Regions from separate parts of the Homo sapiens genome. Here regions 2 and 3 are each linked to region 1. The links are contacts of gene promoters, found by promoter capture Hi-C in blood cells and fetal thymus (Javierre and others, 2016). All regions are on one chromosome and are shown on one strand. The core of a region is centred on a gene start or on the middle of the fragment in contact, and the rest is flanking DNA. Distances in the headings are between cores, read along the strand shown.

Evidence for each region. The method cuts DNA at HindIII sites, captures the fragments that hold promoters and counts their contacts. A CHiCAGO score of 5 or more calls a contact.
Region 2: a contact is called between a fragment that was not itself captured here and the fragment with the promoter of TSPAN14 in region 1, in 3 of 17 cell types (naive B cells, total CD8 T cells and naive CD8 T cells). The highest score is 6.2, in naive B cells.
Region 3: a contact is called between a fragment that was not itself captured here and the fragment with the promoter of TSPAN14 in region 1, in 2 of 17 cell types (total CD8 T cells and activated CD4 T cells). The highest score is 5.6, in total CD8 T cells.

What each region holds. Positions count from the first base shown.
Region 1 is chr10:80,452,929-80,455,628 of GRCh38, forward strand. It overlaps TSPAN14 (tetraspanin 14), which reads left to right and starts at 1,382. Exons shown (of 9, transcript NM_030927.4): 1 at 1,382-1,443. RefSeq lists enhancers at 738-947, 1,691-2,208, 2,158-2,417, 2,448-2,497 and a silencer at 978-2,027. The HindIII fragment of the contact is 5,289 bases long and covers 699-2,700 here.
Region 2 is chr10:84,146,177-84,148,876 of GRCh38, forward strand. It overlaps GHITM (growth hormone inducible transmembrane protein), which reads left to right. Exons shown (of 9, transcript NM_014394.3): 6 at 2,554-2,662. Among named protein-coding and RNA genes, the nearest start is that of GHITM, 8.0 kb to the left of the region's middle. The HindIII fragment of the contact is 1,167 bases long and covers 805-1,971 here.
Region 3 is chr10:84,333,361-84,336,060 of GRCh38, forward strand. All of the region lies in intron 1 of CCSER2 (coiled-coil serine rich protein 2), which reads left to right. Among named protein-coding and RNA genes, the nearest start is that of CCSER2, 6.1 kb to the left of the region's middle. RefSeq lists an enhancer at 597-646. The HindIII fragment of the contact is 3,683 bases long and covers 1-2,700 here.

The DNA.
Region 1 (2,700 bases), core at 132-2,631:
CAGCACTCTGGGAGGCAGAGGCGGAAGGATTGCTTAAGCCCAGGAATTTAAGACCATCACTGGCAACACAGCAAGATCTCGTCTCTACAAAAAAAAAAAAAAAAAAATTAGCTAGGTGTGGTGGCCTGCACCTGTGGTCCCAGCTACTTGGGGAAGCTGAGGCGGGAGGTCGAGGCTGCAGTGAGCCATGGTCATGCCACTGCACTCCAGCCTGGGTGACAAAGCGATACCTTAGCTCAAAAAACAACCCAAACAAACCTGGGAATGGACTGAACAGTCTCCATTTCAAGATTTCCTCCTTCCATTGGAATTAACCTGTTGGTTGCTTGTACTGGCATGTGGCAACCAGTCTTAGCCCAGTTTTAATAGATCCCTGTTTGGTGTTACTCAACAGAGAAGACCACTCGGCCCTCAGCCACCGAATAAGTTTAAGAAACAGAGGTGTGGCATGCTTCATTCTACAGGTAGGGAGGCTGAGGCTGGGGAGCCGCCCCTGGCTATCCCTGGAAACCCCTCTACCCCACAGGAATCGTCCCAGCCATCTCTTTAGCGTAAAGGTGAGGAACAAATCTCAGCCACGATCCAAAGAGGGGCGCCACCCCTGGCTGTCCCTGGAAACCCCCCTACACCACAAGAATCGTCCCAGCCACCTCTTTAGCGTAAAGGTTAGGAAGAAATCTCAGCCACGATCCAAAGAAAGCTTGGTATTTTTAGCACCAAGGCCAGAAGGAGCGTGTCCTTACTCCTTGGTTTACAAAGAAATAAAAACCTTTTCCCCATCCTTCTTTTGATTGAAGACTACCCCCGCCCCCAGGCTCCAAAGCCGGGCAGGAACGCCTCTTATCTCCACCACAGCCATTTTCCTAATCCTTCGCCCGCTCTCCACGGTCATCCCGTGTATCCCTCGAGACGCCGCCTCCCACAGCTCGTGCTTCTCCCAGGTTCGGCTCCGACAAGGCCAGAGCGGCGTCTGCGCAGCGCAACGGCTCAGAGCGCTCCCGGCGGCTACAAGTGCCCGGCCCCGGGCCAGGCCCGGCCTGCGCCGCGCACCCACTGGGAGGGCGCGGACCGGGGCCGCCCCAAGCCTCCGGCACCGCCCAGAGCGGGACAAAGGGGCGGGCCGGCGACCCGGCCTCGCGGTCCCCGGTGCCGCGCGGGCCGGGAGGCGGGGTGCGGTGGGGGAGGGGCGAGGCGGCTGGGGGAGGGGCGGGGCCAGGGCGGGCCCAGGCGCCCGGGGCCGCACCGGGCGGCGCAGGGAAGCGGCGCCCCTTCCTCGGCAGACGGCAGGCGCCGCGCCTCCGGCCCCGCCCCTCCGCGCCCCTCCGCGCCCCGCCCCCGCCGCTCGGACGGCCCGAGTCGCGCCCTCCCGCCCCGCGCCGCGGAACTTGCTCTAACTTCCTCGGCCGAGCCGGGCCGCGCCGCCGCTGCCGCCGCCGCGCGCGGGTGAGTAGAGCGCGGAGACCTGGCTGGGGCGTCGGGCCCTGCCCCTTTCTTTGTCTGAGGCCGACTTCCCCGAGCGTTCTCCGGGGGCGAGGGCTGCTCCTTAGGTCCCTGTTTGGCCCCTCAGCCTCCCTCCCCGCCTGCCCAGGAGCGGCCCCGCGGGCGGCGCTGGCTTTGTCTGCCAGGATTGCTCGCTAGAGGTTGGAGGCCTCCGCCGGGACCCCGCTGAGCCGAACTCCGGCGCCGCGCGGACGAGAGCCGCGGCGGGCCCGGGGCCGGCACTCCTGGTTCGGTAGCCCTCGCCCCATCAGCGCGCCCCGGCGAGTGCGCGCCCGTGCCGGGCGGGGTGAGGGCGACGGGAGCCTGGACGGCCGCTGCTGCTCGGGGCTCTGCTTCTCGTCCCCAGCAGCGAGCTCGGGGATGGGCCACCCTTTCGGCTCAGTCACCCACCCTCGGCTCCCAGGAGATCGGGTCCGGGGTGGGGGTGGGCGTAGGCCGGGGCGGGCCGCCCCTTCCTCCTGCCCCGCCGTGGTTGTGCTCAGTCTCCCACGCCGCCGTGGGTCCCACTCTGCCCGGCTTGGGTTTGGGACGGCCGGAGTTTGAGTAGGCGGTGACCCAGCTTCTCCGCGTTAGTCGTGTGGGGTTGTGTTTGGGAGCAAAGCCTGACCCCTGACCTAGCCGGAGTTCTGGTAGAGTGAGGTTTGTGGCTGCGGACTGTGCTTGTCCCGGGCCGCTGCTGCTTCTCCTCCACCCCCAGGGGTGGGGTGCGGGTGGGTAGGAAGTGCCTGTGTGAGGGTGTGTGGAGGGACTTTGGCCCTGGGACCGCAGGAGCACTTGTCTTGGGGACTTAAAGTTGATCTCCGGCGAGAAACAGTCCGTGCTAGGGGGAGTCGGGGGAAGTCGTGGGCCCGGGTACTGGCCTGGGGCTGGGCGCAGAGCGGTGGTGAGTGCGGCGGTGTCACACACTCGTTGGCTGTGCTGGCGCTGCTATCCGGGAGGTCAGGCGGTGCTGGGCGGCTGTGCAGAGCATTGTATTGGAGCCTCTGCAGGTGTGCTCTTGGCAGTGGTCTGCTCTCCAGGGGATCTTCCTCCCTTCCGAGAGGGAGTTGCTCTTGGGCTAGTGAGAGAGTGGCCTGCCAAATCCTCAAAAGTAGCCTTCCCCTTGCCCCTTGACCTTGAAGTCCAGAAGCAGTTAGTGCCTGCTGAGTGCTCCGGCCACCCTTCTCTATTTGTGAAGGGAAACCTGGGGACAGGCCATCG
Region 2 (2,700 bases), core at 138-2,637, 3.7 Mb after region 1:
ATTCAAGTGTTTGAGGTCTGGAGGGTAAAGAAGACGTGGTTAGAAAGGATACAGTTGTCAAGCTGAGGAGAGAACCTAAGCAGTCGGAGGCCATTGGAGATACTGGAACAACAAAAGCGTGATTTATATTTGAGTTTTTAGAACCAATGTGGAAGAGACATGGAGCAGGTGTACCAGCTGTGCCTTTGTAAGATCTGAAATGAGGGATGATAAGAACCTGAACTAGAGCAGAGTGTGATACTGGAGGGGAAGGAGAGTTCATGTAACACTGATTCCCCACATAGGGACGAAAACCATATTATTTTCACTGTGTTGTACTTTACTAAAGGATAACCATTTACAGTAGCAGCCATTTGGATATTTATATATTCTTAGGATCATGCTTTTTCACATAGACGTCATGAATCTCCCAGCCCAGAGGTTCACAAAGGCACAGAATGTTTCACTGGGGATGTCAGTTTTAATCAGAAGCAAATAATTTAAAACAATACTTTTGTAATAAACATGACAATATTTACCTAAAATTTTAGGCCCTAAAATGAGGCTTCAAAGAAGTTTTGTGTTTGGGCCATATCCTCAGTCCCTTCTGGGCAAAAGATTACCCTCTTCCACTGTTAGTAATACAGAAAATAGGAAAGCCAAAGACAAGTGTTACAGAGATGAAGATGTAACCTTTTGGGTGTGACAGACATATATATACAAACACACACATAGACACACAGATAATGTCAAAGTTTGTCCCAAGTGCATCTGAGGAGAGGTATCTGATCTTGCTCTTGGGCAGCCAGGGTACCTACTAGAAAAAGCTTTTGAGATGAGACAGTACCAGAGTAAGTCGACCAGATATGGAAGGAGATATTCTTAGGCATGATGGATTGAATTAAGGAGGCCTGAAATTTTGGGGCATGTTGGCAGCTGTGCCAGTTCCGTATGGTTGGAATGCAGAGTTTGGAGTGAGACTGGATCATAGAAGATCTTAAAAAAATTTAATTGCTGCTGTCCACAGAGGATGTGTGAAATAGTTTGTAGTAATTATTTCTCGTTAGAAAATGGTGGAGTGGAGCTCGATATGCTTTTCTTTTCTTTTTAATGTTTTTTAAAAATAGAGACTAGATCTCTATGTTTGCCTAGGCTTGGCTTAAATTCCCAGGCTCAAGTGGTCCTTTCACCTCAGCCACCCAAGTAACTGACATTACAGGTCCATACCACTACACCCAGCTCAGTATGCTTTTTCATGTTAAGGTTTTCCCATTCTTGGCAAAACCAGCTATTTGGTTTACCTGTACTTTATATTAGAGGTTGAATATTTTGATGTTCATAGGTGAGACAGATAATACAGATGAGTGAGGAGGCCTAGTGTGTCACACAGGAGATTGTTGACATCTAGAGGTTACTGACATCTAGAGTTAACCTTTTCAACTAAAACCATTCACCATGTTCTTTTTTTTTGTTTGTTTTTTTAAACATAGTTTGCCAAACAAAACATCTGTGGCCTGATTCCAAGGGCTACAAGTTTGCAATCTCTGATTTAAATTTCTTGGAGATTAGCACCATCTTATTTCCATTACATGTTAATACATTCTTCTTGTCATACACAAGCAATATTTAATTATAACACTGGAAATCTAAGATAGGCAAAGAAAAGGAATGAGGACCAAATTAGCCATAAACCTGGAAGGGTAGAAGTGTAGAATCTTATTTCTCATTTTTCTTTTCCATGTGCTGTGATAATCTACTTTCTATTTTTCAAGTCTTCATTTAGCAAATATGGAGTTCAAAGTGATGTGCTATATATATTTTTTTTAAAAATTACTAATTTGTAAGCATCACTGATTTTAAAGAAAATGCTATTTGTGCTATACAAAAATATATTTTTTAATTAAGAGTTAATTATCTTGGGATCCCTAAAGGGTTTTTGTTTCACCTCTGTCCAACAAGAGTAAAATTGTTAAAAGATGTGTTGCCAGTTCAAGCTTAAGACATGCATTTGAAGCTGTCTGCAAAACCTCATATATGGCAGTAGGGGGCACTCGTGCTAACTTAGCCAAAACTCTGAAATAAACCCAGAGCTTTTAATGTGCCAGAAAAATTAAAGTTTTTATTTTTTATTTTTTATTTTTTATTTTTTTATTTTGAGATGGAGTCTCGCTCTGTCACCCAGGCTAGAGTGCAGTGGCACGATCTTGCCTCATTGCAACCTCCACCTCCCGGGTTCAAGTGATTTTCCCACCTCACTCAGCCTCCCAAGTAGCTGGGACTACAGGCGCGCACCACTGCGCCTGGCTAATTTTTGTATTTGTAGTAGAGACAGGGTTTCACCAGTTAGCCAGGCTGGTCTCAAACTTCTGACCTCAGGTGATCCACCTGCCCCAGCCTCCCAAAGTGCTGGGATTGCAGGCGTGAGCCACCACGCCTGGCCTTAAGCTTTGATTTATTATCTTTAATATTTTTACAACTAGTTTATTAGAAGTAACTAATTGTACTTCAAACCTGTGGGTTTCTGCTTTGTTTTCATATAAAGATCAGTTTTTCTTAATAGTACTTGTCTTTCAGACAATTGGTGTGACCTTTGCAGCCATGGTTGGAGCTGGAATGCTGGTACGATCAATACCATATGACCAGAGCCCAGGCCCAAAGCATCTTGCTTGGTTGCTACATTCTGGTATGTTCTGTTTTAAATTGTTACGAGACAACCTTGAC
Region 3 (2,700 bases), core at 132-2,631, 3.9 Mb after region 1:
CAGCAACCCTAGGAGGTAGGTTCTTTTAGTATCCTCATTTTGTGGATATGAAAATATAGAGACTGTGACCTGCCAAGGATAACATAGGTAGTAAGCATTGGAACTGGAACTCAGTCAGCCTGCTTTTAAAAGATGCTATTTCAAAAGTATTATCTTATTATCCATGCCAAGGATTTGGACTTCATTTCTTAGACATTGGAAAGATTAGGTGTTGCAAAGCAAGGGGATGATATGGTATGTTATCTCTTTTAGGGAGATTGCTCATGTGACAATGTGGCTATATATTGAATTATGTTTATAATAGGAAGTGGTTGAAATATTCATGTGAGAAATGAAGGCTAAACCTTGAGGTGGAAGTGGAGATCGGGATATTTTGGAAATATATAGGAATTAGTAACTGATACACAACAGAGTGGGAAGGCAGTGTATTGATTTGGAAGACATTGAGTGGGGTAATGACAGATGAATATGTGCTCACAGCACTTTGTTATATTTCTTTCACAGCGTTGACTGTGATGTATTGTACCTATTCTAGTAACATATCTGTCTCCCCCACTGGATTGTGTGCTTGTCAAAGATAGGGACTGAGTAGAGGAATGAGTGAATATAGGATGAAATAATACAGAAAGGTCAAGAGACTGAACTGGGAAACACCAAATTACCAAAATGAAAGAGTGGGTGGAGGAAGAGTAGCTCTAGAATGTGACAGCTGTCAGGGAGGATGGGGGAAGAGCCATCAGGGAGGAGGCAGAGGGGTAGGGAAGTATTAGCACAGACATGAGCATGTAGAATGCTGCCACCTCAGGCTACAAACAGTTGTGGTTGGTGTGCCCTGCTGTCATAAGCTGATTGTGGTTGTATAGGGTGAACTTGTCTTTCCGTTGTTATTGACTACTTAAGTTTTCTCTGAGTATCTGATGGCTTTCTGCCTCTTTGGCTTCTGACTTCTGCTTGCTACAGGTGCTGATGCTGGGGTGTGATTCAGCCTATTGAGATCAACCAATGAGAACAGTCCTTTCTTTTTAAGTGAATTGACCAATCATAGTATGTGAGATGTAATTTCTGAGTTTTTAGCTCTTCTCTGATGAGTTGATTGGTTTGGAATGTCCTAGAGTTACTTCTCTACCTTTAAAGACTTCTGGTTGATTATATTAAGGTTTGGAGCCATTGGGAAGCCAGAGGATTCTTAAAGGTTGGATCCATGAGCACTGAAGTTTTTTACCTGTTTATTTTTTCAAGTTGATCAGTAGCTTAGTTTCAGTATAGTTGGATCATCTTTGAAGACTGTTGGTCTTAAAAATGCCACAGATTATTCCAAATAATTAAGAATCTCTGTTTTCTTTGTACTTTATAGCTACGTAAGACAGGGGCTTGTTTTAAATTTTCTTGGTCAGCTCCTAACTTACTTCATATGTCTGTTTTTCAAAGAGTTACTTGGTAAAGGAATTTGCTATTGATTTTTTTCTACAACCATTTGCTTCAGGCCATCCTTACCCTCTGTTCTCTGCCTTCTCCTGTTTTCATCTACCCTGTTTCTGTCCTTGATAAGGACAGTGGGAAAGGGAAAAGAGAAAAAGCATGAGGGATTACTCCTTCCTTCCCTTTGTTATGGTAGTTGTTACTGCTCTCCTCCCTGCCATCGCTGCTCCCAGCTGTTCACTTTGGCATGGTCTCCTACCCTGTATCTTGAGTTCTGTGTGTGAGAATAGAAATGCAAGGCATGGCTCTTTAGCTGAGGAACGATGGGCATCTCAGGGTTTTGGTCCTTCTGTGATCTCTCTTTTGGTGCCTGGTATTGAAAAGCCCAGTGACATCTTGTATCTGAGCAAGTGTTTTCTGTTCCCCAGCATTCTACTTCTCTCTCTCTCTTTTTTTTTTTTTTTTTTTTTTTGAGACAGGGTCTCTGGACCCAGGCTGGAGTGCAGTGGTGTCATCATGGCTCACTGCAGCCTTGACCTCCTGGGCTCTAGCTATCCTCCTGCCTTGGCTTCCCAACCTGTACTCAACCTGTAGCTGGGACTACAGGCATGTACCACCATGCCTGGCTAATTTTAAAAATTTTCCATAGAGACAGGGTCTCCCCATGTTACCCAGGCTGGGCTGAAACTCCTGGGCTCAAATGACCCTCCTGCTTTTACCTCCCAAAGTGCTGGGATTACAGGTGTGAGCCACCACAACTGGCCCTGCTTTTCTTTAAAATGCAAAATTAAATTCCAGTCCTGTTTTTTTGAGTTGCCTACCCTCCTCCCCAACACTGCCCCCATGTCAAGATTGCAAAACCTTTGATGACGAAGGCCCTAGTGAATACGCTAGGGACAAAGAAGCAAGACAGATACCAGAAGGTACTTTGAATTGTTGTTGTCATCATATTAATGATATTTCGTTGCAGCCTGAGTGCTTTAGGGCAATTTGAGAGCTTTCTCTGACCATTATCTCTTGGCAGCCAGTGTTAGGGTTGGGAGTTATATAATAATTTTCTCTGAAGATCTTAGCTTAGAAAAACAGGGACTATTCATAATAGCTATTTAAGTCTGTAGAATGGACTTGATGATATTTTGGTCAGAGTTGGTAGGCCACTTTATAGGAAACATCCAGGTGATATTTCTTTTCGGGGTGGGGAGGCAGGGATGGCCATCTTTCTGTTTTGTTTTGTTTCTTTTCCTTATTTAAAATTTTTTCTCAGGTATATTTTCCTCATTT